Linked DNA regions of Homo sapiens: regions 1, 2, 3, 4, 6 and 7 are each linked to region 5. The links are contacts of gene promoters, found by promoter capture Hi-C in blood cells and fetal thymus (Javierre and others, 2016). All regions are on one chromosome and are shown on one strand. The core of a region is centred on a gene start or on the middle of the fragment in contact, and the rest is flanking DNA. Distances in the headings are between cores, read along the strand shown.

Evidence for each region. The method cuts DNA at HindIII sites, captures the fragments that hold promoters and counts their contacts. A CHiCAGO score of 5 or more calls a contact.
Region 1: a contact is called between the fragment with the promoter of RRAGD here and the fragment with the promoter of SNX14 in region 5, in 4 of 17 cell types (M0 macrophages, non-activated CD4 T cells, erythroblasts and 1 more). The highest score is 9.6, in M0 macrophages.
Region 2: a fragment that was not itself captured here is called in contact with the fragment with the promoter of SNX14 in region 5 in 2 of 17 cell types (non-activated CD4 T cells and naive B cells); the score reaches 11.1 in non-activated CD4 T cells.
Region 3: a contact is called between a fragment that was not itself captured here and the fragment with the promoter of SNX14 in region 5, in 3 of 17 cell types (non-activated CD4 T cells, total B cells and monocytes). The highest score is 8.2, in non-activated CD4 T cells.
Region 4: a fragment that was not itself captured here is called in contact with the fragment with the promoter of SNX14 in region 5 in 1 of 17 cell types (monocytes); the score reaches 5.6 in monocytes.
Region 6: a contact is called between a fragment that was not itself captured here and the fragment with the promoter of SNX14 in region 5, in 3 of 17 cell types (M0 macrophages, non-activated CD4 T cells and monocytes). The highest score is 17.5, in M0 macrophages.
Region 7: a fragment that was not itself captured here is called in contact with the fragment with the promoter of SNX14 in region 5 in 1 of 17 cell types (total CD8 T cells); the score reaches 5.1 in total CD8 T cells.

The regions. Positions count from the first base shown.
Region 1 is chr6:89,410,387-89,414,234 of GRCh38, reverse strand. RRAGD (Ras related GTP binding D) reads left to right here and starts at 1,962. Exons shown (of 7, transcript NM_021244.5): 1 at 1,962-2,389. The coding sequence starts at 2,242. RefSeq lists silencers at 1,546-2,735, 2,766-2,875, 2,906-3,005. The HindIII fragment of the contact is 2,415 bases long and covers 1,063-3,477 here.
Region 2 is chr6:89,146,796-89,150,468 of GRCh38, reverse strand. It overlaps PM20D2 (peptidase M20 domain containing 2), which reads right to left. Exons shown (of 7, transcript NM_001010853.3): 2 at 1,056-1,204. LOC101929004 (a long non-coding RNA gene) reads left to right here and starts at 3,603. Exons shown (of 4, transcript XR_942766.4): 1 at 3,603-3,673. RefSeq lists a silencer at 3,668-3,673. The HindIII fragment of the contact is 560 bases long and covers 1,441-2,000 here.
Region 3 is chr6:89,363,835-89,367,523 of GRCh38, reverse strand. It overlaps RRAGD (Ras related GTP binding D), which reads left to right. Exons shown (of 7, transcript NM_021244.5): 7 at 1-2,908. Among named protein-coding and RNA genes, the nearest start is that of UBE2J1, 13 kb to the right of the region's middle. The HindIII fragment of the contact is 2,876 bases long and covers 1-2,702 here.
Region 4 is chr6:81,748,422-81,752,051 of GRCh38, reverse strand. It overlaps TENT5A (terminal nucleotidyltransferase 5A), which reads left to right. Exons shown (of 3, transcript NM_017633.3): 2 at 1-462; 3 at 1,581-3,630. The coding sequence ends at 2,357. Among named protein-coding and RNA genes, the nearest start is that of TENT5A, 2.4 kb to the left of the region's middle. The HindIII fragment of the contact is 922 bases long and covers 1,587-2,508 here.
Region 5 is chr6:85,592,390-85,596,057 of GRCh38, reverse strand. SNX14 (sorting nexin 14) reads left to right here and starts at 2,200. Exons shown (of 29, transcript NM_153816.6): 1 at 2,200-2,479. The coding sequence starts at 2,340. RefSeq lists enhancers at 1,908-2,027, 2,338-2,507, 1,956-2,539, 2,540-3,123, 3,124-3,668 and a silencer at 2,058-2,277. The HindIII fragment of the contact is 2,215 bases long and covers 723-2,937 here.
Region 6 is chr6:89,348,030-89,351,771 of GRCh38, reverse strand. The region is part of intron 1 of UBE2J1 (ubiquitin conjugating enzyme E2 J1); the gene reads left to right. Among named protein-coding and RNA genes, the nearest start is that of UBE2J1, 2.8 kb to the left of the region's middle. The HindIII fragment of the contact is 1,933 bases long and covers 1,028-2,960 here.
Region 7 is chr6:89,433,087-89,436,526 of GRCh38, reverse strand. ANKRD6 (ankyrin repeat domain 6) reads right to left here and starts at 3,375. Exons shown (of 16, transcript NM_001242809.2): 1 at 3,152-3,375. LOC124901360 (a long non-coding RNA gene) reads left to right here. Exons shown (of 2, transcript XR_007059675.1): 1 at 1-3,110. RefSeq lists a silencer at 3,104-3,440. The HindIII fragment of the contact is 1,170 bases long and covers 820-1,989 here.

The sequences.
Region 1 (3,848 bases), core at 713-3,212, 3.8 Mb before region 5:
TGAGCTTTGTAAGTACCTGAGATTTTTTTTCCGCCTCATTTAATCTTCCTAATAATCCTTAGAAGGAGTGATGTTCTATTGATAAGCAATCGGGTTTAGAAGGGCATAAGTAACTTGCCTCTGATGGGAGTATGTAGTGCCTGCTTGTGTTGGTGATGCTCCTTGCACCTCACCCCACCCAGGGACCCACTCCCTGCCCTCCCTATCCAATCTCTGTCCTGGACTAGGTTCCAGGCTCCCTTGCCTTCTGGCTACCAGATGGGTTTGGCCAATGGGAGACACAGGAGAGTGGAGGGAGGATGGATGGAGAGAAAGAGAGGTCTTTGCTCTCTCCTTGATGTGAGGCCGTTCTGGCAGCAGCAGCTTCCTCATCAGTTACAGCTCCTGTTTTGTGGCCCCTCTCCAGGACTCTAGCTCCCTTCCTCACTCCTGTAAATTTAGGGGTGGTGTTATCTTCCCACTATCGCTAATACCTGCATTGATTCCCTAAACTCTGTCCACACCCCTGTAAATTGTTCCTTCACTTGAAGGCTTCAGTTAAAGTCTTTGCACATACCGTCTGTTTCATCCTGGGAAGAACCTTAACTGATACAGTCATACCAAATTATACTGCCTGCCTCCCTTGGAAAATCTCAGGACCTTTCCCATTAGAAGCAGCCACCTTCTGGAAAGTGTCTGCATCCACCTTCTGCACTCAGAAATACTAAAAAAAATCCAGGACATGAGTCATGATTTGGTAGACTGTGAGCTCCTTCAGGGCAGGAACACTGCCCTGAGCATTCTTGGACCCTCTACTTAGCCCAGCCTCAGGCATATAGGAGGTGGTTAATAAATGTTTCCTATGGAGGTTAGCACCCTTGGGCCCTGAGAGTCTCCTGCCCTAGCTTCCTCCCTCCGCTTCTGCACCGCACCACCGGCTGAGCTGCTGGCACCTGTAGGAGCTGGATCATCATGCTGACCGGCCGGTTTTTTCTTATTGTGCTCCACAGAAGGAAGTTCATCCACGTAATTTTTTGCAGTACCCAGAAAGGGTGGGTACAGTGTGTTCCGTGGTGAAAAGCTTGTGAAGGAGGAATGCAGGTTTTAGAGTCTCACTCCACGTTGCTGCTATTCCTATTTGAGAATTGCCCCCCCACCACCGCCACTCCCCTACTCCCACAAAAGCCTTGAAATATTTTATTCATGTGGGATTACAGTCTATGCAACAATGAGACATGAGGAGGTGGCCATGAATAGCCCCCGAGTGTGTTATACACTGAGACCTTTTCCAAAGGGCTGCAGAGGAATTATTTAGTCTAAGCAGCCACGAGTCATGTGATTTCTTCAGAAACATTTACGTCTGGGTAGGCCTGCTTTTTAAATATTCTTGGTGGGAAGCACTTTGAACCATAAAGGCACACTAAAAGACAATTGCTATGGAGACTGCGCCTCCACTGTGCATTTATCTGAGTTCTCCGCCTGGGGCTCTTGAGCGTCCACAGGGTGTCCTGGGCACGCTGCTCTGGGGTGGGGGATCTGGGCGCCACAGTGTTGGGAGGCCACCCGCTTGGGACCCTAGCTCAGGACTGTAAGCAGGAGGCATCCGCCCACGGTAGACGCTCTGCGGGCGTGTGGGAGTGGGACGGCGGGGGGGACATTGAGGGTGTGCGGCGCCCCCTCCCCTGCCTGTGCGGGGACCACGTGAAGGAGAGGCGCGTGGGGGCCCCTGGCGCGCAGCCGCGGTGGGTGACGGCCGGCGTCCCGGGGGCCCCGTGTACGGGGCGTGTGTCGGTGTGAGTCTGGGAGGGTGCAGGGGCCCCGCGCCTCCCCGGTCTCCTCGTGCGTGTGCGTGTGCGTGTGCATGTGTGTCCTCGGCCCAGCGCCCCGCCGAGTGGTGCCCGCGGCCGGGCGAGCGCGCGCGCGCCCGTGCGGGGTGTGTATGTGAGTATGTGACAGTGTGTGTCAGGTGACTCGGGTCACGCAGTCTCTCTCTCTCTCCCTCCTCCGGGAGGAACTGCCGCGCTCCGGCTGACTCCTCCGCCGGCGGGCGGGGCGGGGGAGGGGGCTTCGGGCGCGCTGGGAACCGCGGGACCCGGACCTGGGCGCCGCCCGCCGGGGGACGCGCGGCCCCCGCTTCCGCCGGGCCCCGCTGAGCTCTAGACAAACCTCCGCTTCAGAAATAGGCTGCGGGCGGCCGGCTAGGAGGCTTGGCCCCCACCCCGGGACCCCCGCCGTCCCCGGGCCGGCCGGCCGGTGGGCACGATGAGCCAGGTGCTGGGGAAGCCGCAGCCGCAGGACGAGGACGACGCGGAGGAGGAGGAGGAGGAGGATGAGCTGGTGGGGCTAGCGGACTACGGAGACGGGCCCGACTCCTCCGACGCCGATCCGGACAGCGGCACAGAGGAGGGAGGTGAGCGCCCGGCCCCCGCGTCCTCGGCTCGCGCCCCTTTCCTCCCCTTGGCGCCTTCCCGCCCCCAGCCCGGCCGTGCGCGAGCCACCGACTTGGAGGGGGTCCAGGGGAGCGGGTCCAGTTGAGGGTTTGGGGTGGGGAGGGACGCCAAAAGCCCGACCTCGAGCTGCCAAATGAGGGAGCGCGGTGCTGGTGGCGGAGGGGCAACCAGGATCGGTGGAAAAGGGGAAGGAGGGAGTAAGCGTCTGGGCTGGAGGAGCGCGCGCTTCTGCCCCTTTCAGAGCCGGTGCCTCCCGCGCCCCTCACCCCAAGCTCTCCGCAGCGTCTGGCGGTTGGGGAGGGGAGGGGACCGCGGGCGCGCCCTGGGACCTCTCTCCCAGAACGGTGCTGTTGAAGCCAGGGTCAGATGTCGTGGCTAAAAAAAGGCAGCCGGCGGCGGCGTGACTGGCAGGGTCGTCGGCAGCTGCGGGTGTCAGTCTCGCCCCGCGTCGCCGCGGGAGGGGCCCACCCAGGTAGTGGCTGGGGAGACCCGCGGGGCGGCGGGGGGATGCTCGCCAAGCTGTTGTGGGAGTCTCCGAGAGGCCGCAGATTTCCCGGGATCCACGCAAACACCGTTGTCAGGACACCTTATCTGCTCTCGGTATCACCACCTGGACATGGCAGTGCCTGCCCGGGAGTGAGCGCGCGGCGGGGAATTCTTTGCTTCAATAGTGAAGCAAACTCTTTTTCCTGTTCTAGAAGCGGGTTTTAGCAATCGTTCAGCTTGTGGGGGCTTCCTGCATTTTCTTAAGGTGTAAGGAAGTTGAGAGCCTTTTAGTATTCCAGAGAGGTTAAACTTTTTTTAGTTTCCCTCAGAAGCGAGCAAAAGTTCCTTTACTGTAAGGTCACTTGGAAAGGTCAATAGAAAGCGGCTGTTAAACATGATGTTATTCTCAGTGAAACTGTATGCATCCAAGAGAAGGAACTAACTTTAATGTTTCACACTGAAGAAATTGTGTGAGAGATACAAGTACCTTTGTGACTATTGATTTTTAAAGAACTTTTATTGAGAATTCACTGAACTTATTTTAAATTCTCTATGCAAAGCTTTTCTCACTAGGGTAGTTTCATTATTCTACATCTGGCAGGCACGACTTTCAATGAATCAGAAAGGAAATAAAGTTAACTATGCCTTGCGCCTGGTAGATGAGAAAGCAGCCTCTCAAGTCACCCTTTTTCATAGCGTTTTCTCTCTTGGGATGATTTGTGCTAATTCCTCATTTGCTTAAACTGATGTGTGCACCTTTGTGCTTTCTGTCTTCTGCACTCCCGGTAATTGGTCTTACCGTTGAGCACCAGGCCACATTTTTGTAGATAAAGGCTTTCAGCCGTTTTATTGGAGTCTCTAGAGCTACCTTCCGTAATTAAATTGTTCAGTCGCCTCATTATTATTCAAATTCCATTTGTTAGCTCCTCCCAG
Region 2 (3,673 bases), core at 471-2,970, 3.6 Mb before region 5:
GACTTCAGAACCAAGACCACGAAGCCTAACCTTAAGTCCCAGAAGGGTAATGAGCTGCAGAGCCTGCCTGCATATGCAGGCCCCTTCTAGTCAAAGGCAAGGGCAGAGATTTCTAATCCCCAGTGTTTTCTAGAGATGGACTAGTTTACCACCACCCTTGAAACCAAAGTTCAAAGATTCCTCCTACTGCCACAGTACCAATTTCCAGTGATAAGAAGGAAGATACCCTAATAGTTAAAATGATCACCCTTTGAAAACAGGGCCTGGTAAGGTGCTAAGAGGTGGGATACCCGGGTACAATCTAGAAGCACTGCTGTGATGGTTCTGCTATCATTCCCTCAGTACCGAGCTACTTCTGAGGAAAACACATGGTTTTGCTGAAGCAGCTGAGCACTGGCTCCTTGTGCCTGGACCATTAACTACTATAGTTACTACTATGGTTGAAATTTCTGGTATAAAAAATCCAAACCACTTCAATGATGTGTGCTCCTAGGTACTAAAAAGTGAGTTCTTCAACATAAAGAAAGACAAATAAAAGGTTTCAGCACCAGACAAATCGGAAAAGCACAGAATGAGAAGTTCCACAAAAACCATAGCTACTCATGTTCCATATTCTCTCTCAGGACATAATTTATCCTCTTTGCAAAGAACTCAAATTAAAGTAAATAAAATGGATAAGTGTGGTTTCTTCCCATAGCTAATAGAACGATCTCTCGCAAATCTATTCAGTTGCAAAGACAATTTCATATGAAAGGACAGATGTTTTCCAGACACCAGATTATTGACAGTTCAAAAGAGAACTTAATTGTCAACATGTTTGTTATTCCTATGGTTTCTAAGTGCTACTATTTTAATACTCCAATTATGAACACCATAATGAATCTCAATTAGAAGAGGCTTGCCAAATGTCACTCCATAGATCAAGACATCTTGTTATTGTCTTTCAATTTACTTCTTAAATATACAAATGTGGAGTTTTCGTCTCTGGTTTAGACATAAAAGTATTCTATAGCCTGTGTTCCCCTAAGAAGTTTATCTTCAACTTGATTACTCACTCATGTTCAGCCATATCTGGTAGATAAGCAGCATTCTCTTGTGATGGGTGGGCCATAAAAACAACATCAAGATTTGTAAAAGCCCCTGCTTCAATTAAATCAATTTTGCCACCACCATCTTCTTCTGCAGGGGTTCCCAGGACAACTACCTAGAAGGAAATACTCATGTCAGGGAAAAACAACAAAATCCTCATAGGAATATATCAAACAGGTTCACCTGCATATGTATTCACAATCTACATTAAAGTCCTTAACCTATTAAGACAGGTTTTGTTCTATGACGCTTACGCAATGGGCATCAACAAATGGTGCTAAATTAATCACAAAATGTACATTGTTATACCAACTTGGTGCAAAGTATGTACTAAAGACACTATAAAAAGCTTTTCCCAATTTTACAAGTCAACTAATGGCAAAGATAAAAAAAAATACTACAAGTTTAGTCCCTCAAAATTTGTTAGGATTTGTTTCAAAAAGGTTCCTCTCGACTAAGCCTTTCAGTGTATGTATGTATATAATTATTCTTAAGTACTTTACGAGTCAGAAACTTTCTGTTAACTTACTACTTATCCTCACAACAACCCTGTGAGGTAGGTGGGTGATCTCTATCATCATTTTACAGGGGGTGTTTTTGAGGAATTGAGTGAAGTGTCTTGCCCCAGGTCACAGAGCAAGTCTTCAGGCAGAATTAGGATTAGATGTCCTGATCTTCTGGCCTAAACTCTGATTCCTTACTGGGCTACCTATTTTAAAAGTCTGAACTCATTAATCCTTTATGAAGAACATTAAACAAGTCTTAATGCCACAGTTAGAAACAGCCAACTATTACACAAACTTACTAATTCGATTCCACCAGTTCAACCAGGCAGATTTATTGGTCACCAAACACCTAATTAAACAAAAGAGAACTTTACAGAATAAACATTTTACTTTGATATTTAAGCTTAACTGCTTCAAACAATTTTAAAAATCAAAATAAACAACTAATATATTTTCAAGATCATGTATAAGAACACAATGAAACAAGCTGGAAAAGTCTTGGCTTGCAAAGGAAATCAACTTAAATTCCATTTTCAGATAATTAATAACTTAACCTTGCTAAAATTGAGAACAACCATTTGAAGTTAGAAGAGTGGGCCGGGAGCGGTGACTCATGCCTGTAATCCTAGCACTGTGGGAGGCCGAGGTGGGCGAATCACCCGAGATCCGGAGTTCGATACCAGCCAGGCCAACATGGCGAAATCCTGTCTCTACTAAAAAATGCAAAAATTAGCTGGGCGTGGTGGCACACACCTGTAATCCCAGCTCAGGAGGCTGAAGCACGAGGATCGCCTGAACCCGGGAGGCGGAGGTTGTAGTGAGCCGAGATAGGACCACTGCACTCGGCCTGGGCGACAGAATGAGACTGTCTCAAAAAAAAAAAAAAAAAAAAAAGAGTGTACATTTCTCAAAGTTTAGCTTTTTTTTGGCGGTTCTACAGTGCTCAAACTCTGACATGAAGCCGCCGCTCTTTTTTTTTTTAAGAGGAGGCCTCGCTCTGTTGCCCAGGATGGAGTGCAGTGGCGCGATGTCGGCTCACTGCAACCTCTGCCTCCTGGGTTCAAGCGATTCTCCTGCCTCAGCCTCCCGAGTAGCTGGGATTACAGGCGTGAGCCACCACGCCCAGCTAATTTTTTTTTTTTTAATATATTTTAGTAGAGACAGAGGTTTCACCATGTTGGCCAGGCGGGTCTCGAACTCCAGACCTCAACTGATCTGCCCACCGCTCTTCATTCTTGACCCTTAACTCATTAAATACGATATGTCTCTCGCTGACTACTCAGAACCTTTAAAAACGTGGTTGAAGCGAAATCTCTCCAGTGTTTGTGACATGGCAAAGCATGCTTCCCCCAACCCAAACAAAAACCTAACAAATGCAAAAACGAGCCTCCAGAGACAGAAAAAAGAAGGCAGCTAAAGTGAAAAAGCCACAAAAGATGTAGTGTTAGGATAAAAGAGGAAGGTTACTGACACTGGGGGAAATGAACTAAAGAGTATGAAAATAAAACATTTGTTTTCCCCTTAACTGAATGACGATTGAATCTTAGCTCATAGTGTAGAATATACCATCTGGAAAAGCAGAGTAAAACAGGATTAAACTTGCCCTACGACAAACATAAACGACATTTCCCTGTTTAAAGAGTCGAGGTATTTCTTAAAATCATAAAACAAAAAAATTAAGACTTAAGGATGAACTCATCTATGTATAATGCTCATTCACTTCCCCTTTATTTGTATACTTCTAGGGGTCTGGTGGTTCTAGCGACTGAAAATTCCTATCCAAATACCAATGACTTGAATCACATTTTCTAGGACTGCCACAAACAAAAGATTTATTTGGAGACGAATAAAAAGGGGCCGTAGGATTACCTACAAGAAGTTATTTCCTCCTGAGATTGATGGCACAACCTTGTCAGCAAATTGCTGTTGCCTCTCTCAGTTACCAAAAATAACCCGTAACAAACACCAGGCTTGGGTGTAAGTTCTTTCCTAAGGGAACAACTCAGCAGAGCTGTTTATAACTAGAGAGGAGGAAACAATAATCTGCAAGATGTCGCCAGGTCGGCAACGCGAACTGA
Region 3 (3,689 bases), core at 15-2,514, 3.8 Mb before region 5:
AAGCTCCAGGAGCAATAAGAACTGTCCCCTATTTATAATGGGTGTAAACAGTTTTGTAGAATAATGCTAGCACCAGACTTACCTAAAAATTTCTATAGCAGTGGCTGTGCTTCCCTGCTCAACGGTTTTTATGAAGCTGTTTACCTCAACACACATCTCTATAATCACTTTATACAGAGAGGTTATTTCTTTTTGTTGCATTAGTATTCTTTTGAAACTTTGGGACCAGATTTCCAAAATGGTGCCGAACACTGGAGAGAAGTAAGAATGTCACTGAATTGTAGGGTTTCTGGAGGCTTTTCTGTACCTACCACCCAGGGCTAAAGTAACATCAGAGGCCTAAAGTTGTTCCAAAAGTATGTGATTGGCAACTGCAGACTAAAAAACATAGATACAATTCTGGACTTTTGGCCCTGTGCGATGGTCTGGTGTGCTGCATTTAAAATGCTTATTCAGGACCAGTTCTTTATTGCTCCATGACCATAGTGAATAGAACAAATCGCAGAACCCCACCATGGAGCTCAATCCTGTTAGTCACTTTTGTCACCTCCACATCTCCTTCTCACTGGTGATAACATGCCTCATGTACTCCACTTGTTCCCACCTTATGATTAAGCCAAGCTCAGCCTGCCACCAGCATGCTCTGCAAGGCTGAAGAGTCATCCTGAAGACCCCTAAAGGTCAGTGGGAAAAGGATGGCTGGAGAGACATTACAATTAGCTGTGTAATTGTTTCTGTGAAATTATTTCACTTATGTTTACTTTAGACTAACAGGAAATTAAGAGTCCTAAATCTACCCCTATGCCAAATCATTCCAAGTAGATAATTTTACGTGCATCTCAAGGGTTAGCACCCTAAGGCATGCTTGTGGGGCATTAGAAAATGAGATTTTTTTTTTTTTAAAGCAGAGCCTCCTAAGAACATCAAAGTTGGTCCTAGCAAAATATATAAAGTCCCTAAAGCAACTTATACTTGAAACTTTTTTTTTTTTTTTTTTTAGAGGGGGGCCTCATTCTGTTGCTTGTGCTGGAATACATTGGTACAATCATAGCTCACTGTTACCTCTTGGGCTCAAGGGATCCTTCCACCTCAGCCTCCCTAGTAGCTAGAACTACAGGTGTGCACAACCACGCCCGGCTAATTCTTAAATTTTGTTTTTGTAGAGACAGGATCTCACTGTGTTGCCCAAGATGGTCTCAAACTCCTGGCCCCAAGCAATCCTCCTGCCTTGGCCTCCTCAAATGCTGAGATTACAGGCCTGAGCTACTGTGCCCAGCCTAAACTTTCCCACTTCTCTCTGTGGCTTCTTTCCAACCTCTCTCCTTCCTCTCCCCAAGTCCTGTTTCTTTGAAGCTGGTAACTGAATTTAAGATGATATCTGGTTGGTGTTTAAGGTTTGAGCCTCCCAAGGTTCTGTGCATTTTGAAAGGAGATTTCTAAAAATAATTAAGGTGCCCTAACTCCTTTCCTCATGATTCCTACTCCGAAACCTGGATGGTTAGGAGCCCAGGGCTCCCTGATTTCCAGAGCTATATCCTGTTGGACCTTTGCCAACAGACCTGACACTTAGGGGTTATTGTTATAAATCTAATTCTCTAATATTTTTTACATGTTGTTTCACTTTGAATAAGCAAATGAAGAATCAGTTTTCTAATATGACTTTATCCTCAAGCTAGAGACACTAGCCTATTTGGTAAATCACACATTACTTAGGTATATTTATTACTATAACCAGGTTGGAGCTTCCATGTTTAAGCTGGGTATATGATGGGTTTTTGTTAAAATGTGCCTTAAAAAGCCTATTACTTCAAGAGCAAATGATTCTTTGGGGGAAAGGCAAAAATAATTCTATGACATAGGGCCCAAGTTCATGGTAGTAAGTGTACTCTTTGATTAATCACACGCTAATATAGATTACTGCCTCTAACTTTGTAAGTGTGGCAATGACTTCTTAATTAAAGAAAGATGCAGGAGTTATGTCTAAGCGTTCAGTTTTTCAAATCTGTGTTATTGGAAATGTCTTCAAGTCATTTTGCATTGTATTTTTGATATGAGAGGCAGCTTATTGCGATGTGTATGGCCATGTTTCATTCTCAAATTTAATTCTATAAATACAAATCCTAAATACATGGCTACAGCAACTGCACTGGAACATTTTTGCTTGGTTTTAGGGATTGAGAACTTGCCTTGCAGGTTTCCTTCCTCAAAAGGAGCAGGGCAGTCCTTTCCCTGTTGAGTCAATTAGAATTTTTACATAGAGGTGAGACTGTGAATTATTTTGGTTATTTTCAGTGATGTAGATTAGTGTGAATGACCAGGGTGGAATGTTTTTGAAGGAATATAAAGCAAAAACTGGTTGACATTCACAAACTGTTCTTTTGTGAACATATTTTGGACCCTTAAATATGACTAAAATCACAGCAATATTGTTACATACGGGTTATATGCCAACTCTGTTTGAAATATACTCTGGAAAAACAGCTGAATTGTCTTGGTTATTAAAGTATGGTATGTATTCAACTTGTACAGACTGGATGTAATTTGTAATCAGGTATAGTCCATGTTTTACTTTAAGCAGTACATCACTTAATAACCATTGTTAAGCCATTGCTTTCAAGAATGTTAACTGCCAATTTAAAAGCATGTGTCCTAGGTTCATGCTTTGGTAAAGCTCTCATTTCAAGTGTATTCATAGCTAAGCTTTCTGGGAGCAGAATTGTCTCTTTGGTGAAAAGGAAGTACAGCCTTTCCTGTTTCTGAGGTTGCTTACCATACATGTATGTCACTGTTTCATTGGCCCTGTTACATCCATTTGGTAAAATTTATTTGTCCTGATTAACCAGCTCTCATTTTATGGAAATGATGATAAATCTCACTACTTAAATTTAATTTATGCTTTTATTTTTAAACTCTCTTACATCTCCACATTTTTGATGGGTACATGCCAGTTAGGGCTGTAGAACTGTTACTTCAGTAAACTTCAGATATTAACTCTTGCTGCTGTGGCCCTAATCCCCTAGTCATATGGAAATCCTTTTCCTAACAGTTTACCTTATCATTCTTAACTTTGCTTAGTAAGATTCCATCCTACAATGACCTTTTTCAGATCCCCTAGGAGTTCTCAGAGAGGGGCTAGCATTAGATGTTATATCTCAAATATGAAATCCTGTTCCTGGTTGGAAAACCTGATCTGAAATAATTATTTCCAAGATTTTCCATCAGTAGTGATGTTGAGCTTAAGAGAAAGAAAATTTTGTCTTCAACAGAAGTATTTAGTAATAACAGATACTGATTGAGTACACACAATATGCCGCAGGCACTGCTCTGAAGTACTTTTGCATAACTAAAATTCATAAATCCAAGAGGTAAGTACTGTTACCATTTCTATTTTTCAGATGAGGCAACCAAGGTCAAAAAGATGAAATAATAACTTGCTCAAGATCATATAGCTAGTAAGCCCACTTTCCCAACTACAACTATAAGCAGCTTCACCAAATGTTTTAAAAAAAATACCTTCCTTTCACAAATATGAAGAGGGGCACTTAGAGGATTTGTCTGGTGGACTAAGACTATGGGGTGTGCCATGCCATTTGAGGATGCAAAAGGAGGGCGGTATTCAGGAGAGTGTGTCAGAGCCCACCAGATACATTGGAGTTTATCCACCTAAACTACTAATTACTACATGGGCA
Region 4 (3,630 bases), core at 798-3,297, 3.8 Mb after region 5:
GACTTCGGCGGCGGCGACTTCGGCGGCGGCGACTTCGGCGGTGGCGGCAGCTTCGGTGGGCATTGCTTGGACTATTGCGAAAGCCCTACGGCGCACTGCAATGTGCTGAACTGGGAGCAAGTGCAGCGGCTGGACGGCATCCTGAGCGAGACCATTCCGATTCACGGGCGCGGCAACTTCCCCACGCTCGAGCTGCAGCCGAGCCTGATCGTGAAGGTGGTGCGGCGGCGCCTGGCCGAGAAGCGCATTGGCGTCCGCGACGTGCGCCTCAACGGCTCGGCAGCCAGCCATGTCCTGCACCAGGACAGCGGCCTGGGCTACAAGGACCTGGACCTCATCTTCTGCGCCGACCTGCGCGGGGAAGGGGAGTTTCAGACTGTGAAGGACGTCGTGCTGGACTGCCTGTTGGACTTCTTACCCGAGGGGGTGAACAAAGAGAAGATCACACCACTCACGCTCAAGGTAACACCACCCGAGATGCACTTGGGTCCTGACCCAGTCTGGGCCGGGTGTGACGGGGAGCGGGCAGAGGGGCATCGGTTAAATGCCATGAATCTGTGGCCATCACGAGTTTGGGCGCGCGTTATTTCTTTGATTTTTGATTTTTTAAACCAGTAAACTGACGTGCGTGGACGGTGTTGAGTGTTTCAGTTTACTTGATGCTTTGGCGCTACAACTCTTCTCCCAGGTCCTCCTCTGCCCTCTCTTCTCTTCTTTCTCCTTATGTTTTAACTCTTGGCTTTCCCTGTTGGAGTCTTGTCCAGAGTAGATTCTGATACTTGGCAGAATGAAATGATGTAAATAATTTTTGAGTCATTATATTTGAGTCTAGCCTTTGGGAAAATAACAGCCTGAAGCAGAAGTGAGTCAATGAGTTTTTTATTGTACTGGAAAAGGTGAATAGATTTCACAGCGGCATTCAGCTGACTACGTGTTAAAGGTCTATCTGGTGGTTCTTCGTGCTGGTTCATATGTTAAGGGTATAGTGGCACCCCCTCCCCACCCTCCACTTTAGTTCAAGACGGGTTTTATATGATTAGTTAAAATTGTCTGAGGAGGCAGGCTCCTGGAATGTCATAATTTAGTTTATATTTGATTGTAACTGCAGGGTGCCCCTGGAGGGACACACAAGATACTGATAACATTGATTGCCGCAGGCGGAGAGGAATTGGGTGGCTTGGAACAAGGGCGAGAGGCTGACTAACCTACCGCTGAATGCCCTTCCGAGTCTTTTGAATGTTGTTTGGATACTGTGTGAATATTGTGCCTATTAGACCGTTTTCAAAAAGTAACACTTAAAAAGTCAGACATGACAACAAAACCTCTTACTACTGTGCTACGTCTGCCAAAAGCCTCAAACTATTACCTCTAGTCCCTTTCCCAGACAGTAAAACTACTCGTTAAAAGTATTTTTTTTCTATTTTCAGAAGACCGTTTAAGCCTGTAGGTAGTGTTTGGCTGAAACTTGACAAAACAAAAGGGAAAGAGCAAAATAATTCTCAGCTGTGAAGAGGATGTATTTATTTATTGATTTATTATTTTCTAGGTTTGCTCATTTTGTTTTATCTTTTAAATTGTAGGAAGCTTATGTGCAGAAAATGGTTAAAGTGTGCAATGACTCTGACCGATGGAGTCTTATATCCCTGTCAAACAACAGTGGCAAAAATGTGGAACTGAAATTTGTGGATTCCCTCCGGAGGCAGTTTGAATTCAGTGTAGATTCTTTTCAAATCAAATTAGACTCTCTTCTGCTCTTTTATGAATGTTCAGAGAACCCAATGACTGAGACATTTCACCCCACAATAATCGGGGAGAGCGTCTATGGCGATTTCCAGGAAGCCTTTGATCACCTTTGTAACAAGATCATTGCCACCAGGAACCCAGAGGAAATCCGAGGGGGAGGCCTGCTTAAGTACTGCAACCTCTTGGTGAGGGGCTTTAGGCCCGCCTCTGATGAAATCAAGACCCTTCAAAGGTATATGTGTTCCAGGTTTTTCATCGACTTCTCAGACATTGGAGAGCAGCAGAGAAAACTGGAGTCCTATTTGCAGAACCACTTTGTGGGATTGGAAGACCGCAAGTATGAGTATCTCATGACCCTTCATGGAGTGGTAAATGAGAGCACAGTGTGCCTGATGGGACATGAAAGAAGACAGACTTTAAACCTTATCACCATGCTGGCTATCCGGGTGTTAGCTGACCAAAATGTCATTCCTAATGTGGCTAATGTCACTTGCTATTACCAGCCAGCCCCCTATGTAGCAGATGCCAACTTTAGCAATTACTACATTGCACAGGTTCAGCCAGTATTCACGTGCCAGCAACAGACCTACTCCACTTGGCTACCCTGCAATTAAGAATCATTTAAAAATGTCCTGTGGGGAAGCCATTTCAGACAAGACAGGAGAGAAAAAAAAAAAAAAGAAAAAAAAAAGAGTGATCCAGCCCTTATTAGGGATGTGTTTTGTGCAATGATGATATGCTCCTGGTTTTAAGTTTGGCAAAGCTTATGTATCTTTTAATAGATGTGGGAGCATGATCTCGAAAGGATCCTTTTCCCTTCTCTTATTCTCCTACCCAATTGGATTCTATCCTGCAAAAAAAGAGAGACCTGTCATTAGAAGCAACCAGGTTCTCCTGATACAAGAGAAGAAATGTGTGATGACAATATGGGTTTGCTGTATCTGCTCCCATAGCTTTGCCATAGGAAAAAAAAAAGTGGAAAGTTTCTTTTAAGATGGAATTCATAAAAGGGAAAATACGGAGGAAAAAAGGTCTCACTCCAACTTGTGAATCAGTTTAGGAGTTCAGATATTAATAGTAACAATACAGGAAAAAGGGGAACTCCAACGTTGGGATTACTGTCTGAGGCTTGTAGCAAGTGCTTTCTGTGGAATGATCTTGTTTTGCTAACAAACGGCTTGCTCCAAATGAACAGTAGTAGGTTGGTGCAGTTCTCGTAACAATCAGCAGAACTTATGATGACACAATCCATTAATTCCAGCTGCGTGCATAGATCACATTTTTAAAATGTAAAAATGCAAGCAAAAACAGCTGTAACAAAGAAAGTGTGCTCAAGGACCAAAGATTTAACAGATAAAAATACCCAATTAGAAGAGATATAGTAGACTATATGAAGAGAGATTATATTTGTTACACACCAATATACATCAAAGTGCCTGTTGCCTTCTGAAAATTTGAAGTGGCAAAATTATTTTATGGTTTAATGATTATTTTATTTTATCAGGGACTGCCTCAAGAAGAAAATAACATAAGCTTGTGAATGGTGGAGAAAATGCCCTATTTTTTCTTGCAAATACTTGTATAAAGTTAACATTTGTTGATCTGATATTATCATAGGTACATGTGTATGTGTGTATAAATTATATGTGTGTGTGTATATATACATTTTATATATACATTTTATATGTATATATACACAGTAGATTGACTATGATCTAGAATAATGTCTCAAATAGGAAATGTTTAAATACTGTGTGTTTTTATGTTTTCAACAGGATAACATGAGACGTGGGCATATTGCAATGATGAATTAAATCCACATCTAAAAAAATTAAATGAAGGAGGGAACCAAGTAATATATTTCATAGGAAGAGCAGAAATTATACT
Region 5 (3,668 bases), core at 951-3,450:
GGGTTGGTTGATTGTGGATATTCCATATAACCTCTCCAAAGTTCAGAACTTAACAAGGTTGGGGAAAAAATTTCGAGCTCTGTGCGTGTAAAGGTGGGTTCTAGACCATAGGCTAAAGACATGTAATGAAATAAAGGTTATTTCCTTAGATGAGGTCCGTAGTGACAGAAATTGAATTATGTTTCATGCTTTAGGTGTGGAAATTCTCTGCCATAAAGAATTTCCTTATGGCTGAAGTTTATTATATTTTTTTTCCTTTTCTAATCATAAGAGCAATTTGGAAATTTAAATTATCTATTGTCCAGTTAACTTATTCTAATTGCCTCTAAGAAATCAGATGGGAAAGAAGTCTTTTAATTGGATGTTGTAGTGATGTCTGTTTTGAACAGAACTCAAAACATTTTGTCTTTAAAATATACTGGCTCTTGGTGAAAAGAGTAATTTCAAAATAAGGCTTTAAAAGGAAGCAAAAGTTTTAAACAAAAGGCAACATAATTTACCAGGCAGGTTAATAACTTACATTATTTGTCATGAGATTAGTTTTTTAAAAGGTAATTTACAAAAGTGTAAAGCACTCAAGTCCATAGGAGGCACTTGATACATGTAGATCCACTCAACATACACCTATTTTAGTATTAACAGATAAAGATACTTAAAAACTGCCAAAGTGAAATTAATAAATGTTTAAATATGTACCTAGAAATATTAAAAAATGGTAAGCTTTCCAATGATGTTACACTGTAGTCTTTTAAATGGTTTAGTCACAAACAGAAAAGTGTATTTGTGATGTTTAGACAATAATAGCTAATCGTGAGGATCAGTGAAATTGTTTACTTTTATACACCACTGTGGAGTTGGTACCACCATTCTACAAAGCAGTTTGACTGTATCAAGAATGTTTGTTTTTACCCTTTGACCCAGTAATTGTATTAAAGTTGATTCTAAATAATTAGAAATGTGCATAGGTTTATCATCAAGGATGGTAATATCAATGGACTTTAGTGGTTAGCAATAATGGAACAGGATGGTACATTCTGATAAAGGATAATAATGCATCATTAAAGATCCATGTTTTTGTAATACGGGAAAATATTCATGAAACTACATACATCATTAAAAAACATTTGTTTCCCCACTTTGAAGGATAAGATCCTAGGAAAGAGAGATGACAGGCACAGGCTCTGTCTTTAGAACGTGTTCAAATTCCGGCTTTGTTAGTTTTATGATCCTAAGTTCCTTTCTGTCTCAGTAATTTGCCTGTATAATGATTGAAACTATAGTACTGTACCTACACCATGGGGTGAATGCATGAAGGTCAAATGAAAGTGCTTAGTGTCTGTACCGCCTAAGTAAATTTTCGCGATAATAGTCTTCCTGCATCTCTCACTGTAGCGGACAATACAGAAAAAAAAATTTAGAAATGTGATGAATTAGTAAAGGGAAAACCCCATGAGACTCTATAAGAGGGATTTTACCTAATCTGCCAACCTGCCTCTTCCAAGCACTCGGATTTTGGTTGGGCTCCCGGAGCCGGCGTGAATTGAGCTCTACCCTTGCCCGTGAGCGCGCAAAAGAGATTTTGTTGGTGGGGTGGCGGCCTGATGAGTTGTAGTCTTTATTCTAGGGCTGTTTTACTCGCCACCCCCCCAGCCCCCAACACACCCCTTTTAAAATACCGACTCAAAGGCGTCCTCCTATCCCCCTCTCCCTTAGGCGTCACGCAAAGCTCGGACCTGCTCCCACCCGGAGCCGAGTGTACGGTGAGGCGCGGAGCGTTGCGGGGTCGGGGAAGCGCTACCACCCGCTCCATCCCTCTGCGGGTTCGTGTCACGAAGACTACAGTTCCCAGCGGGCTCCACGAGCTCCGGTTGCCCCTCAGGCAGCGCCCGGCGGCTACGGGGGTGCTGTAGTTTCTTCCGGGCTCCCTACAACCTTCTTCCCTCTCCTCCGCAATACAGGCAGTTACTGGGTGCTGGGGCTGTCCTTTGATTTCCGGAAATGGCCGGTCGCCAGTGTTGTCAGAGTTTCCACGGAAGACTGCGCGCTACTCCGGCCAGGAGGGCGGAGCGGCGAGACGCTAGAGGCTTTGCGCTGGGTGACGACTTCGGGCACGTTCTACGGCCGTTCCTCTGGTCGGCTGGGGACCGCGGCCGCGCACGCGCGGCGGGGGGCGTGGGGCTGGGCCCAGCCGGACGCGACCTCAGCCTGCGGCGGCTAACTGCCGGTAGGCGTCTGTGTGCGCCGCCAAGTCGGTGGGGCGGGGACGCGAGGTGTGGATGGGGGGTCGCCTTGACCTCTGCCTCAGCCAGTAGCGCAGTCTCGGCCTCGCCGTTACGGAGATGGTGCCCTGGGTGCGGACGATGGGGCAGAAGCTGAAGCAGCGGCTGCGACTGGACGTGGGACGCGAGATCTGCCGCCAGTACCCGCTGTTCTGCTTCCTGCTGCTCTGTCTCAGCGCCGCCTCCCTGCTTCTTAACAGGTAACGCCGCAGCGCGGAGCCTGGGCGGCGGCTTTTCTCCGAAGGTGCAGACGCCCGGCCCGTGCTGCTTAACCGTGCGGAGGCCGCGTAGCTGCGGGACTGGGGACCAGTGGGGAGAGCGAGCTCCGCAGAGGAGCGGCCTCGGGGAGCACGGCGGAGCGTCGAGGCCGGAAGCACAGGCCGGTGGGGTGGGGTTGATTGCCTCCTTTCCCGAGGCTTCGTCTCCTGAGCTACCTTTTTCTCATCCATTTCTCAAAACGAGTTCTTCATCTTCGTTGCTTTTCAAAAGTGAAATCCGTGTGTCGGCTCAAATTGAGACTGTACACAGGCAGTCAAGTCAGCTGACGGAGGAGTGTTCAAGGTCCAGTTCGTAGCCGCAATTTTAGGCAGAATCCGCACACCTGCAGCGCGTTCTTCCATCTCCCCACCTCCCACCCCCTCAGCTTGCAGCTGAAGCTTTTCCCGCAGTATTGTTGAATAAAACAGACGATCATAAAGATTTGTTGGACAGAAATCAGAAAGCAAAGTGGTACCCGTCCCAACATCCTTAGAATTTTTTATTTTTGAGACGGAGTCTCGCTCTGTCACCCAGGCTGGAGTGCAGTGGTGCGGTCTCGGCTCACCGCAAGCTCCTCCTCCCGGGTTCACGCCATTCTCCTGCCTCAGCCTCCCGAGTAGCTGGGGCTACAGGCGCCCGCCACCACGCCACCACGCTACCACGCTAATTTTTTTGTATTTTTTTTTTTTTTTTTTAGTAGAGACGGGGTTTCACCGTTTTAGCCAGGATGGTCTCGATCTCCTGACCTCGTGAGCCGCCTGCCTCGGCCTCCCGAAGTGCTGGGATTACAGGCGTGAGCCACCGCACCCGGCCACATCCCTATAATATTCTTAAGAGGACTTGATGCCACCCTCCCCAAAAAAACCTGAAATATTCCGAAAGGTTAAAATTGATAAATTCAATTGACATTTTGAAATCAGAAGATTCTGCCCCCGAAATAAACTTGTTTTACTTCATTTTACTATTTCAAGAAATTGTTGCGATGCAATAGGTAGTAGAGGAGACTTTTCCATTAAAATTAACACCAGATTTGCTTTTGGTGGAAAGAAATCTGAGATAGTTCTCATTGACAGCATCCGCAAGCTGTTTTCTCTGATGTTTTGAACAGGCAACCATTCTTACTCTTTATCT
Region 6 (3,742 bases), core at 745-3,244, 3.8 Mb before region 5:
AAATGAATCATTGGATCCTCTAAATGGTATTTTTTCTATCTGTACCTTGATACATTTTGTCAGGGGGAAGAAACTCCACAGTTAACTCTGCATGATAAACTCTAGGATATTAGTGATGATTTCACCAACTTTTGCTGTTGCTTAAAATTTCCTTCCAAAAAAAGCTGTTTCTCAGTAGGAATTAGCAAGACTAGCATCCTTGTGGAAAGAGTTGACACTGTGAATCTTTGGGTTTTTTGTAAGGTTTCAGAATATGCAAAAACCCCAGAAAAGCCTGAGGATATTGATTGGAGGGAGCTTTGTTAGCCTGAGTGCTGTCAGGCTAAGAAATGTCCTTAGGTGACCAAGTGTGTAGAACTGGTCATAATATTTTAGGAGCCACTGACTCCTTAAAAAAATCTGATGAAGACCTGGCACGGTGGCACACGCTTGTAATCCCAGCACTTTGGGAGGCTTGAGCCCAGGAGGTGGAGAGCAGCCTGGCCAACATGGTGAAACCCCGTCTCTACTAAAAACACAAAAATCAGCCGGGCATGGTGGTGGCGCACTCCTGTAGTTCCAGCCACTCGGGAGGCTGAGGCAGGAGGATGGCTTGACCCGGGGAGGAGGTTGCAGTGAGCCGAGATCGCGCCACTGCACTCCAGTGTGGGCGACAGAGCGAGACTCCATCTCAAAAAAAAAAAAAAAAAAAAAAAAAAAAAAGAGAATCCCGGGGTGGGGAGGGAGGAAGAAAAGACCAAAGAGAAAGAGGGAAAGAAAAGCTTAATTTTTAAGCTAGATGGTAAAATGATTGAATTATTTACATTGTGGTATATTTAACTGGAGCTGTTTGGGTAAAAATGTATGGTGGCTCCCTGGTCACACGGTTCCTTAGGACAGCAGAGGTGCTTAGTGAAAGGTCCAGAGGATAATGCACATGTGAGTAGTAGTGCAGTTTAGAATGGAGAACTGGTGGAACCCAAGAGATTGTTGTCAGAAAACATCGCTCAATTTCGATAGGTTAGACTTAATACTATGATGATAAGCTTTTAAAAATCTCCAGAATTTTGTATATTTCCAAAGTATGTGAACTATTGTCAGCTGGTTGAGCTTTGGTTGACATGCTTCTAGCTGTGTCATAAATTGCTTCCTTTTTCTGGTTTCATTTCCTCAAAGATAGTGTTGCTGCTCTAAAAAAAAAAACACAATGCTTCTTAAAAATCTATTTTTGTTAGTGTGTGAATTATTTGGAGTTCATGGAGAAGTTGAATTAGGTAAGATATGGGACTTACTGAAAATGCTGGGAGGCATTGTGAAAATACTTCCTTCCTTTGCTTTATTCTCAGTCCTGTGGTATTTTTAGAGTAATGCCTGTGTGAAGGGGAGCAACTGAAAACTCCAATTTCCTGTGTATGGCAGGGTGCACACACACACACACGTAAAATACCAACATACCAGACAAACAAAAAACAACCACACAATGTGAGGGATATAATCTTTTACTCTTTATCTGATGTGGGATTGTCTTTGATGTATGAGTGGAAAGATTAAGTGAAGACAATACAGATAGCTGGTTAAGGGCCAGTGTACTAGCATGTGGATATAGTAAATTTTTTCATTTCATAGGTGGGGAAACTTTTTGCTTTATGGTTTTTTTTTGGAATGGACTTGTGATTATGGATAGAGCTGTTGTGTAGGATCACCTCACAGTAGTTGTCTGTGGTAGTTGTCAGTAGTTGTCTATGGATCTGCTACTGTAGTAGCAGTAGTTGTCTATGGATCATGCTACTTGTCTATAATCTGTCAATAGTTGTCTATGGATCAAGCTACTTGACCCGTGTTTGGGTCTGCTCTGGCCAAGGAAGTAGGGTCTTATAGTACAAAGTGAAGAAATGTGTATAAAGCACCTCCTTTGGCAGCTTCTTCATCAGGGGGCCATTGACATGTGCAGCAGGTGGTGGGAGTATAAGAGACTGGTGCAAAAGTACCCACTGCCTCCACCAGAAGTCTAAGAGTTACCTATCCATGCCATTGGTGTCAACTGCACCTTCCCACTAATCCACTCAAGGTTTCATGTCCAACTCAGGCCCTTCTCGTAAGCTATAGATACACAGAACTTATGGTGACTCAACATCTTCATTTCCCATAGAGTGAAAAAAATCTCTGTAAGTATAAAGACAAAACTCATCAGTTTTCTTCTCCTCCCCTAAACTTGCAGTTTACCCTAGTATTTCATATCTCAGGGATAGACAGCACTCAGGCACCTATGGGAGTCATTTTTTATTTCTTGGTCGCTTCCTTGCTCCATCCCTGCCCTGAAACACACAACTCAATACACACACAGAAACACATATATCTAATCAGTCACTGTTGTCACCAGATCAATCAAAACAAAAACTGATTACCCCCAAATTGAAAAATTTTCAGTAGCTTTCTGATAGCTGTCAATAAAGTTCAAAGTAAACTGCTTAGCTTGGCCTACAGGGCTGCTCATGATTGACCCTGCCCTTCCTCACCAGCCTCACTGTCCACCACTCTTATGCTCTTCCTCATTTTCTTTTTTTTTGAGGCAGGGTCTCCCAGCCTGGAGTGCAGTGGTGCCATCACAGCTCACTACAGCCTCAACCTCCTGGGCTGAAGTGATTCTTCCACCTCTGCCTCCCGAGTAGCAGGGACCACAGGTGTGTGCCACCACACCCAGCTAATTTGTGTATTTTTTGTAGAGACGAGGGTTTCACCATGTTGCCCAGGCTGGTCTCAAACGCCTGAGCTCAAGTGTTCCCTCCACCTTGGCTTCCCAAAGTGGTGAGATTACAGGTGAGAGCCACTGCACCAGGCCTGCGTTTTTACCTATCCATTTTGCCTGAATGACTCTCTAGCTGGAGTAGCTTTTCTCACTTAGGTGCTTTGGTTCCTGTTGGAACCTCTGCTTAGAATGCCTTCCTTTAAATCCATCTGAAATTCCTATAGTTCTTCAAGCTTTAAGGTTCAGCCTTGTCTAGCTCCCCTAGGCAGACTAAAGTAGTTCCTATATATACTTGTACATATATACTTGGTCAATATTACCACTTGGTTGTAATTATTTTCATGTCTTTCTCTACTGACTGTTACGGAAGACAAGAAGCAGGTCTTGGTCATTGTTTTATCTCCAACACTCAGACATTCTTTAAATGTTTGTTGAACTGATACATTTGCAGGGTCCTCCTGGGCAGAAACATCACTCTGTAGGCATTTGCTTAAGTACCTTCATTATGGGAGCAGGAAGAGGCAGTTAGGGAGCATGCCTTCCTTAATATACCTGTCTCCTGCATTTCACTCATGCTTTGGGAATTGATAATATCAAGATAATTGCTTTTGAAGAGGAATCCATATATGGGAAGCAGTGGCCTGTAGAAGATCCCTTTATTTTTAGCTGTATACAAACCCCAATGTGAGGCTAGTGAGCTAGCCAAGGTGTGTGAAGAATGCTAATGCCTAGGCCCACAGCACCTAGAGCATGGCTCCAGAGTGTCCATGTGGCCTCTATAAGAAAGAAGAACAAGAGCAGGCATCCAGGTGCCACCCCTTCCTTTCCTGGCACATCTTATCTCACCACAGTGAAAGGATTCCATGGAAAAACCTTTCCAAGAGATAGGAGAGGAGCTGGAATAAAAGTTTCCTCTCTAGCCATGTAGAAGCAAGAGATGGAGTATCAGGAGGGGCAGACTATGCTGTAGCCCGGTTGCCAGGCAGCACTGTGAACCATGACTGTTTCCTAACAGTG
Region 7 (3,440 bases), core at 155-2,654, 3.8 Mb before region 5:
TTACTATTTTGGACCCCCTGACTGGGTGTTTTGCAACTATAGCAAATTAAAATGGGCAATGTAGAAAATCTGAAAATTTCAATGGAAACTAGTATACCAAACATGTCTGGACACTGCTGAACCTATTAACTGGAGGTAGTTTGCAGTTTCAACAGTAGATCATGTTACATTCCTATCCAAGACAATACATCTTTGCAAAGCTGGGTTTTCTGTGGCTGCTGTGATAAAAGCCAAATGCTGCGGAAATATTAATGTGAAACAGGAAATGAGAGTGGCAGTGTCCAACACGATCCCAAGGTTTGAAAAGTAGTATAGGCACACACATACGGTTAGTAATTATGACTTTAAAGGATGTAAAATATTTTTTCTCTCAGTTTATGTATATTATTTTTTCAAACAACTTCTAAGTAAATACTCAGTTGTTTGAACCTAACTACTAACTACTGAAACCTAAGGGAATTGTGAAAAAATTACTAACTACTGAAGCCTAAGGGAATTGTGAAAAAATTAACTCAGACACTAAGGGCTCCATGAAACCAAGTTTCAGAATCTTTGCCTTAACCAAGAAGTAACAAAACAGTGTAAGATTCACCAAGGAAAGCCATGTGACCTTGAAGAAATAAAACAAAGACAATAACACAAACATATCAACCAGGAAGAGGAATTTGGGTTGTTAAAACCATTTTTAAAGGTCACTCTTAGCTTAATCCTTCAAATCCCACACAATGCCTTCTGGATAATTTGCATTTTTAAAAAAACTTCTAAAACGCACGCACCCAAATTACTGTTTTCCCACTTCTTAGGGACTCAAGCAAAGCTTTTAAAATCACAGCCATCAATCTATGTTGGAAGAGACTGGGTCTCCCCTACACAGACAGAACACACCTTCGGGATCCGTGCCAGGGAGACAGGAGAAACTTGGAAGAAGACAGAGACTAAAAGATCCCCCGACTTTGAGACTTTCGGCTTTTTTGTGGTTTGTATCTTACCCTCAATAGCCTGCTTTTAAGTTCAATAACAATGCTCCTTGAGAAAAAAAGAAAAATAAAGAATGCTCCAGGTTATTGTGGAAATGCTTGTTGGGAAACTTCCTTTCCTCAGGGTTTTTCATATAAGCAAGGGAAAAAGTTAACACAACATCCAGAATAGTGGTTCCTTGGGTGGGAGGCGAGAAGTGAGTGGAAGGCAATGGAGAGGGGTACTCAGGGGCTCCAGGGGCCTGGCGATGTTCTAGTTCTTCAGCCGGGTGACTCGTACTTGGGTGTGATCTATTGTTATTCTTTACATTGCACTCTAAGGTTTATACTGTCTGAGTGTATGATGTATTTCACAGTGGCAGCACCAGCATCTCTATACAAGAAGGAGGCCTTGGGAGTTGGAAGTGTGCCTTGTCTCTAAGCTGAGTTGGATCGCAGGCAGTCTGCTTTTACATGGAGCATATGCTTATCTGGAAAGGCTTTGGGGAGGCTGATGAGTTTAAGTGGGAGACTAAGATTAATTTTTGGTGCCACCATGAAAAAACAAGGAGTTAATAAATTCACATTTTTAAAAATTACCATTGGTTTATACCTCCCAACACTGCGACTAGTTGTTTTCTGGTCTCTTTAATTCCTCTTCATCCCTCTTCTACCCTTCCCCCATGTCCAGTATGACCTAGAGGGCAGAAAATACTCCCCAATTTTAATTTGTATCCCTAATTTTTAAAAAATTTTTTGTTACCATATGCTAAACAAATACTAAAGATGACAAAGTGTAACATGTATCGGTATAGACACACCTACTACACTCAAGAACAAGGCTGCAGACCAGTACAGTGGCTCACACCTGTAATCCCAACACTTTGGGAGGCTGAGACAGGAGGAGTTCGAGACCAGCTTAGGCAACACAGTGAGACTCTGTCTCTAGTAAAATAAAAAAATTCAAAATTAGCCAGGTGTGGTGGTCCCAGGCTGAGGTGGGAAGATCGGTTGAGCTAAGGAGGTCAAAGCTTACAGCCTGGGCAACAGAGCGAAACTCTGTCTCAAAACAACAACAACAAAAACCCCGCCAAGGCTGCTATTGGTGTTTTGGGGATGAGAAACCCCCAATCAGTATACCATGGATGGGACCACCTTGGACCCAGGTGTGTTTGTCTTCATTGCCCAAGTTCTTTCCACTTACACTGGCCTAACAGAACCTAAGCATGAATGAATTCAACATCCAACAGGTTCGCAAAAGGTGTCTAACACACAAGAGTACAATGCCAAGCATTTCATTCCCATCACTTCACTGCATGAACACAATACTACGAGGTTATGTACAATACCTGCAGTTTAGAGTTCTAAAAACTAAGGTTTAAAGAAGTGGGTTTTCCAAAGTCACACACCTAACAAGTGGTGGAGTCAGAACTCCATCTCACGGGCCCGAAGTGGCTCTTTACTACCACGTGACCCATCTCATGCTACCTCGCGGGGGAAACATTCTTGACCAGCTTTGAGACATTCAAGTCCCTCTTGGGTCACAAATAATGCTGCACTTCCCCTCCAGTCCCCGAGATCTACCGGAAGCAACACACTTAAAAGCCCAAGATAAGCTTGGGTGAGCTGATGTCTGGACCCAAACCAGACAGCACGCCGACTCTCTGGACCCCGGGAGATGCCACTTGCTGAGGCTTCGCCGATGGGGCTCCTGAGGGGTATCGGCCCCTCTCCTGCGACTGCACCCTAGTGCTGTCGTCCAGGGCGGGGAGGGACGGGGTCATTCGGAGGCGGCCGCAGGCCAGGGACCTACCCTCCTACGCGCCGCAGACCGCGGGGTACTCGGACCCCCGCCCCCACCGCCCTTCCTTCAAACTGCAAGCGAGCAGGAGAACGAGGGACGAGCCCCAGAAGAAAGTTCTCCACCTCCCTCGCCCGAAGTTCCATATTCCAGGGAGGCAACTGATGCCAGGCGAAGAGGGAGGCGCCCCGGGGGGACCCCCTCGCGCCGGGCGTTTTCGGAGGCCGCAGGCCAGGGGGCGAGGCGCGGTGTCCGGGTCTCCTCCGCGGGCAGTCGGCGATCCTGGGGTGCCGAGGGAGCAGCGCCCCCTTCCCCCGACAGCGTCCTCCCCGACCTGAGGCGCCCACCCCGGTGTAAGCGGGGGTCCCAGGGAGCCGGCGAGGTCGCCTGGTACCTTTCTCTCCCGCGCCGGACGTCCGCGCCGCAGGGACCAAGGCCGGCGACACGGTGGGGGGCGAGGGGCGAAGACGGGGACTGGCTCCCGCTGGCTCCGGCGGCCCCAGGGCCTCGGCGCCGCCCAGCGCCGTGCCTCCAGCCGCCCGCGCGCCAGGCAGCGCTCTCGGCTCCTGCGGGTTACCTGTGGCCGAGCCCGCCGCGTCCGCCGCCGCAGGGCCCTCTGCCCCGTCCCGCCGGCCCCGCCCCACCCCTGCCGGCGGCTCCTACGCCGGTGCCGCAGCGCCTCC